Linked DNA regions of Homo sapiens: region 2 is linked to region 1. Evidence: promoter capture Hi-C in human tissues and cell types (Jung and others, 2019). All regions are on one chromosome and are shown on one strand. The core of a region is centred on a gene start or on the middle of the fragment in contact, and the rest is flanking DNA. Distances in the headings are between cores, read along the strand shown.

What was found. Contacts are between HindIII fragments. The study calls those that stand out against the background at their distance.
Region 2: a fragment that was not itself captured here is called in contact with the fragment with the promoter of RNF8 in region 1 in 1 of the 25 tissues and cell types used here (dorsolateral prefrontal cortex).

The regions. Positions count from the first base shown.
Region 1 is chr6:37,351,966-37,355,896 of GRCh38, forward strand. RNF8 (ring finger protein 8) reads left to right here and starts at 2,018. Exons shown (of 8, transcript NM_003958.4): 1 at 2,018-2,310. The coding sequence starts at 2,200. RefSeq lists a silencer at 1,871-1,970 and an enhancer at 2,271-2,320. The HindIII fragment of the contact is 14,582 bases long and covers 1-3,915 here.
Region 2 is chr6:38,495,143-38,499,073 of GRCh38, forward strand. All of the region lies in intron 6 of BTBD9 (BTB domain containing 9), which reads right to left. Among named protein-coding and RNA genes, the nearest start is that of BTBD9-AS1, 16 kb to the left of the region's middle. The HindIII fragment of the contact is 5,265 bases long and covers 1-3,931 here.

The sequences.
Region 1 (3,931 bases), core at 768-3,267:
ATTACAGGTGCTCACCACCATGCCCAGATCATTTTTGTATTTTTACTAGAGACAGGGTTTCACCATGTTGGCCAGGCTGGTCTGGAACCCCTGACCTCAGGTGATCCACCTGCCTCGGCCTCCCAAAGTGCTGGGATTACAGGCGTGAGCCGCCACACTTGGCTGTGTGTGTGTTTTTTGTTTTTGTTTTTGTTTTTTTTGTTGTTGTTGTTTTGATGGAGTTTCACTCTTGTTGTCCAGGCTGGAGTGCAATGGCGAGATCTCGGCTCACCGCCACCTCTGCCTCCTGGGTTCAAGCGAGTCTCCTGGCTCAGCCTCCTGAGTGGCTGGGATTACAGGCACACGCCACCACGCTGGGCTAACTTTGTATTTTTAGTAGAGACGGTGTTTCTCCATGTTGGTCAGGCTGGTCTTGAACTCCCAACCTTAGGTGATCCGCCTGCCTCGGCCTCTCAAAAGTGCTGAGATTACAGGCATGAGCCACCATGCCCAGCCCGGCTGGTTTTTTGACAGAATTTTATTTAGGAAAATTGTTTTCCTTCTTTCCCCTTGTGCAAAAAAAAAAAAAAAAGAGAGGAAGAAGGGAGGAAGGAAGGAAGGAAGGAGAGAAAGAAAGAGAGAGAAAGAAGAAAAGAGAAAGAAAAAAGAAAAGAAAGAAAGAGAAGGAAGGAAGGAAAGAAAGAAGAAAGAAATTGTTAACTGGGTGTTGGAAAACTGAAAAGACAAAAGGGGCTCAACCATTGGATGTACTCACTGCAGGCAGCAGCTATCACACTATATGGAAAATCCAAAGGAGAGGCTGAGTTTAAAAACAATTTTTTAATTGGCCGGGCTCGGGGGCTCATGCTTGTAATCTCAGCACTTTGGGAGGCTGAGGCGGTTGGATCACTTGAATCCAGGAGACACGGCGAAACCCGGTATCTACCAAAAAATATAAAAATTAGCCGGGCGTGGTGGCGCGTGCCTGTAATCCCAGCTACTCTGGAGGCTGAGGCAGGAGAATCTCTTGAACCCGGGAGGCGGAGGTTGCAGTGAGCTGAGATCGCACCACTCCAGGCTGCACTCCAGCCTGGGTGACAGGGCGAGACCCTGTCTGTAATCAGTAATAATAATAATAAAATTAACAGCTTTATTGAGTATAATTTACATGCCATAAAATTCACCCACTGGAAGTTTACACTTTCTTCACTTTACAGGGTCTCACTCTGTCGCCCAGGCTGGGATGCAGTGGCGCCATGTCGGCTCACTGCAACCTCTGCCTCCCGGGGTCAGGTGATCCTCCCACCTCAGCCTCCCAAGTAGCCGGACTACAGGTGTGCACCACCACACCTAGCTAATTTTTCTTTTTTTTCTTTTTTCCTTTCTCTCCCTCCCTTCCTCCTTTTTTTTTTTTTTTTTTTGTAGATACGGTGTCTCCCCATGTGGCCAGGTTGGTCACAACTCCTGAACTCAAGTGATCCGCGCGTCTCGACCTCCCAAAGTGCTGGGATTACAGGCGTGAGCCACTGCGTCCGGCCACACTTCCATGACTTTTTAATAAACTTATACAGTTGTACAATTGTCACCACAATCCACTTTTAGAACATTTCTATTACCGCTTTCCTCCAATTTTTTCAAGCCCATCTGCATTCAATACCCGCTCCCACACCTCGCCCCAGGTAACTGTGCTCTTTGTCTTTGTAGATTTGCCTAGTGTAATTTATTTTTTACTTCGGTAATATAAGTAGGTCGTGCAAAATAGAGACTATTTAGCAACAGACTAGGCAGACTTAAATCCGATGGAAAGTTTAAAGTTGTTTAAAAGTGGGCTATAGTTTCACATGACTTTTTTAAAAAGAGGAAAGGTGAGAAGAGGTTCCAGTCTGGGGCGGCTAGGACTGGGGTGATGGTTCTGGAGGCGGCGAGGGAAGGTGTGAGGCGAGGAGACCTCTCGAATCGCGCCCGCCCCGCCCAGGGCCGGATTGGCTCCCAACCCACCCTCTTTGCTCCAGGGCGGCCGCCGTCCTCTTGCGCAGGCGTAGTGCTCCTGCTTCCTGGCCGAGGGCGGGCGAGCGGAGCCTGCTTTCGCAGCGATCGCGAGCGTGTGGCGATTGCTTCTGTCTGTTATTTAGATATGGAAGCTGAGGGGATGCACAGAGGCAGCCAGAACCTAGGTCAGGGTCTCGCTCGGTGCTGACCGCCCCCGGGGTCGAGTAGGCGATGGGGGAGCCCGGCTTCTTCGTCACAGGAGACCGCGCCGGTGGCCGGAGCTGGTGCCTGCGGCGGGTGGGGATGAGCGCCGGGTGGCTGCTGCTGGAAGATGGGTGCGAGGTACGGGGGAAGGGGTCCTGTGGAGCGGAGGGCAGGGGCTGGAGGGAGCGGGGCTCCGGGGAGGGAGGAAGGTGTCTTGCTGGGCTGAATGAATGGCAGAGAGGAGGCGGGCATCAGGAAGAGGAGCGAAGTGTCTGTGGGGGGGGTGGATTCCTGGGGAGAGAAGGGAGAAAGCGGTTCTGGCGCGAGCGGCTGAAGGGTCTGCGGTGGGAGGTGTTTGGGGGAGAAATAGGGGCCGAGTGGGAGAAAGGAAGAAAAGAGAGTTCGGCTCTGGGGAGCCCGGGGGGGCCACAAGGGTTGGGGCGAGGACGGAGGCCCTGACCCGCGGCCTGTGGGGCGAGAAGCGGGCCCCGTCCAGAGAGGCCTGGGTCAGCGGGTAGCTGGGCCGGGGACTGGGAGGAGAGGGACGCGCAGGGAACGTGAGGAGATGCGGGGGTGTCGAGGAGGGGAGGGCGGGGGCTGGCCAGATCCCGTTTAGGGCGCACAGAGCCCCGCGGTGCCAGGTCGGGGAACGGTGGCGGGGGCCGCGAGCTGCCGGGAAGCCGAGGCAGGGCCCGGCGCCTGAACTTTCTCGAGTTTGTTTTGAAAACGATTGCAAATTTTGGGTTTTGTCCCTTAAAGCAATCAAACTTTCACGTAGAAATGTCTTCCTCCTTCCCAACTCTGAGGAACATGGGCGGCTTGGGCTGGGCCACATTTCTCCTGTGAGGCTCGGTACGGCCGAGTGGCACTCCCTGAGGTGGGTCGGGCAGGTATTCAGAGTTCTCTCCAGAGGCTGCCTGTCGTCTTTATTAATGCAGTTGCAAATGAAAAATATTTTAAGGGGAAAGATGAGGTACCGTTCCTGGCACGGTTCAAGATGCACCAGCGTGGTGCATCTTGAAAAGACGAGGGAAGGGAGGAGGGAGTTAGATTGCAATCAGGTTGAGAAGGAGAACTGGGTCAGGGACAAGCTTGTGATGACTGGGAACCATTTGGGTTTTGGAAATAATCTGTATGAAAAGTTCTCTTTGCAGTAAAAGTGGATGGTTGGTCATGATGTAAATTCAAGAAGTATTTTGAGTCTCATGTGTGTTCAGGTAGATTTTTCCTATAAGCCGTACTGCCTCAATTCAGTCTGCCAGGTATTTACTGAGTATTTAACATTGTTTGGTGTACAATGAGGACAAATAAAATTTCTGCGCTCGAAGAGTTTAAGGCTTGAGTGGGGAGAGAGGATTTATACAATGAAGCAGTCATCGTATAAAGAACATCCATATGGGCTGTATGATCAAGTGCTAAGATTTGGATTATTTAGTTCCTTCCCAGAGCAGTAGTTCTTCAAGTCAGAGGAGGAATTCATGTCTAGGCACAAATTTAATTGCTAGATTAGGGAGTGTTATAAAGGGTTACTTGTATGCTGTGGTTTGAGGAACACCAAGAAAACATCTCTGCCTCCAAATACCTCTTCTATCCAGGTATTAGTGCCTAAAAGTCCACATTAAGCATTCATTCTTTTAGCTTGAGCACTGATCTTTCCCTGCCTGGCCCTTTCCAACAGCATATGTTTGTGGGAAGTTTAACAAATTAAAACACGAACACCTGAATAATAACCTGAATAATACACACAAAAATAAATTAT
Region 2 (3,931 bases), core at 644-3,143, 1.1 Mb after region 1:
TGGCTGTGGCCTTGCATCTTGTTTCCACCGCTACAGATCAAAACAGGCAAATAACATCTCTGTGTTTCGTTTCTTCATCTATGAAATGAAGATAATTGTTCCCATCTCATGGGAATGTGGTGAGGATTCATTGTAATGATGCAAATGAAATAACTAAGCCTGACTGCCTGAAACTCACACGGGAGATCTTCAAAGAATGTTAGTTCTCTTCTCCATCTATTCTTACCAACAAAAGAATGCAGAAGACCTATTTTCACCAGAAGGAGGACTGGAACCAGAGTTAGCAGGTATGGAGTCACATGGGTGAATCAATAAAACCCACTCAAAATTTCATCTATGAAAAACCTGTCCTTCTTTATTATACATTAGAAGACCCAAAGATGGTTCTGGAAGCAAACACACTGAATTCTGGAAAGGGGAGGAAAAGGAACAGAATTGGCATTTGTTATGTGCTTCATGTGCTACTGGTTGCACCCAGCTTTTCTATACATAATCGTATTACTTAAGGCACCACAGAACTCTATACAGCAGTTAGAACTGTGATGGAACCAGTGAGGCTGGCTTCCTCTTATCCAAGTATGACTGGAGGACAGGGCTCAAATGACCGTGCAGGTGCATCTGGGCGGGGGGGCGGGGGTATAACAATGAAGAGGAGGTGCAATAACAGCCCCGTGGGGATGATGACAGACAGAATATGCTCATGAATAAGAATGTCTTACTTATCCCATCTTAATTACTTTCTTCTGTCTCTTTCTTCATGTTTAAGTATTAAGAGCAGTGAGGTGGTAAGAAATGGTATGGGAGTCATATCAGAATCCTTTGGAGAGAAGAGATGGGCACATGTGTCATCTAAAAAAGCATTTTCAAAATTATAATAAAATACACAACATTTGCAAAGCAGGCTTTCTGCCCGTTGTGACCGTGAAAACAAAGCAGCTGAAGAGGCCTGATGTGAAAGTGACCTCCTCTGTGCTCTGTCACTGGCAAGAACAGGAAAAACACTTGGGGCAAGCAAGCCAGCCCCACTTTCACACATGACTCACACGACTGAAGGAAAGAAAGGGCATCCTTCTCAGGCTGTCACTGCCTTCTTTTATTACAATTCTTACTTTTTATAATATTTTAAATAATATTAAAGGAGATGTAAGATTTGTAAGTTTATCAAAGAGACATGAGTTTTTAAATGTTGAGAAACACATTTTTCTAAAGATGCAAATCAGCCAGGCGCAGTGGTTCACACCTGTAACCATAGTACTTTGGGAGGCTGAGGTGAGAGGGCTGCTTGAGCCCAGGAGTTCAAGACCAGCCTGAGTAACACAGGGAGACTCTGTCACTACAAAAAAAAAATTAAATTAAATTAGCTGGGCACGGTGGCACACACATGTAGTCCCAACCACTCAGGAGGCTGGGGCAGGAGGACTGCTTTAGCCCAGGAGGTTGAGGCTGCAGCAGGACATGATCACACCACTGCACTGCACTGCAGCCTGGGTGACAGAGCAAGACCCTGTCTCTTAAAAAAAAAAAAAAAAAGAGAGAGAGAGATGGAAATCAGCTTCAGGAAAATGAGAGGGTAAAGGGAAAAAGGACTCAATGGACAATTTTAAAAATTCGGGCTTTTGGCTAATGGTCATTCCAATTAAAATGCAAATGAATGAGGCTTCTAGCTTTTGCCAGCTTGCCAAGTACCCTATGACTTACTAGTGGCAACAGCCATCATGCCTTCCCTTGCTACGTTAGTGTCTAAAACAATGCCCTAAAAGCTTAAGAGAGCTGGTGGCAGACAGCAAAGTAGCCAGGGCCTAGCCACATGCTCTCACCAAGATCCACCCTGAAGGTGAAAACTTTCAAGCAGGGAAGCAAAGGTACCAGCATGCCCCCTTATCAACATGGGAAATACCTTTTTCTCAAAAGACAAATGCCACAATACAGAACTATGACCATCTAGCAAGCAAATGACAGATGGGTCTAGACACATAAGGTAAAGGACAAAATTGGTTTTGGTGACTCTCTGAATATTCATGGAATCTATAAAAGTCCAATTCTTTTAGGATGCAGTCTGTTAGAAATGAATATGCAACTGTACCAAATAAAAACAGTGTATTTCTCAAAATGCACACAGGGAGGGGACTTTTCCCACCTCCCACTGCTGTCACAGGCAGTTGCTGTATACGATCTAGTATTATCTGAACTGTATATTGATTTGTGATTTATATTCTCTAATGTAGGTCCCAAGGATACACTTTTTTTCCCCAAACTGTACTTCCTCTGGAATTTCACACATCACAAAAGATGCAACATTCAGTAAGATGTTTCCTAACCATAGCATTAGAACGGGCTAGCTCTTCAAAATGATCAGGTTTCCCGGACCCTACACATGGCAGCAGTATGGAGTCCCTTTTTGCAAATTTACCAGTTCATGATATGGAAAGAAAGAGAACGAGAAAGGCAGTGAAGGGGAGGAAAGGAGAGAGCAGAAAAGATGAAAGGGAGGAAAAGAAAACTGAGAAGAATAAAGTATTCAGCAAGAAGGAACTGATGTCAAAAAGGATGACTACTTACAACTAGACCTATTAACAATAAAAACCATTGTATGGTAGAGGATTTCCAAACCTTGTTGCTACAAAACTCCAACTACTGAGCAACCATTACAGCAAGCAAAGGCTTCAGAGCTGGCTATTCTCTCAAGTCCCAGGCAGAACCGAAGGTATTATTTTAAGTCTTAATTAAGCAAGCTAGGCTACAGTCAAACTGCAAGCAACCCACTGAGGTAGCAACAGCTAGGTTTATAGAAAGAGGTATTTAATAAGAATAATGTGTGTTAGGCATGCTGAAAAATGGATTTAAGGCTGAGATGCCCCTTGGTCTCAATACTGTTATGTTTGAATCTTGTTGGCTTTATGGAAACAATAACTATAAAGTGTCTTTCACATTAATAAGAATTTCCAGCACAACCAACATCCAAGTGATTCCCAACAAATTATCAGACACAGAAATCTGATCATTTACAAAAGTGGTTTACTGTACAAATTCAGCTGCCTGACGCACCTGTCTATAATATCTAAAACCAAATCCAACCTATCCCAGTTTTTCCACAACTAGGTTGTTCCAGGACTGGTGAGGTATCAAGGATGAGTCACAACACCAGAGCTGGACTCTGCCATCCACACTCCATGTTCATGGGCAAGAGAATGCTAAGCATATTTCTTCACAGACTGTACTAAACAGTTCTACATCACATAAGCTAAATTTCTTTCATTATTTAGAGACACATATATTTCAAAATTTGTATGGTTCTATCTTTTTCTATCTAGTACTAAAAAAAAAAAAAAAAAACAAGGCAAGAAGTAACCCAGAAAAGGATGTAAGAGGAATACTAGCTTTTAAATGCCTTGGCTCAGAAGTGTCCTGTATCCCTTCCACTCATAGCTCGTTGGCCTGGGCAAGTCACAAAGCCCAAATCCAATAGCAACAAAGGCTGGGCAACATAAGGGGACACATGAAACCTGTGGTGAGCACCACTATTTCTACACACCATCCAATTTCAAAATTATTTGATTCTAAAACCCAAGAAGCCCCGGACCACTCCTCCTGTAAGCGTCACTATCCACACCAAGGATGTGTGTACCCTCTACTTTGGTAACCCCCCACGCCCCACCCCAGTTGATACTGAGGCAGACCTCAGTTCTGTGTTGATTTTCTCACAAAATTACATTCAAAACAAATGGAGCCCTAAAGATATAAATTCCACAGAACAAAGACCTGTACAATCAAGTTAAATCCCCACACATTTTTATCCACATCAATTATGTGTCATTTAAAAGAAAGAAGCCATAGTAATGAATGATCTAACATAACTGGAGTCTAAACAATGCCTGTCAGCAACTGCGAGAGGTTCATCTTTTATAGTTGGTCTTTTGCTGAGCCTATTTTC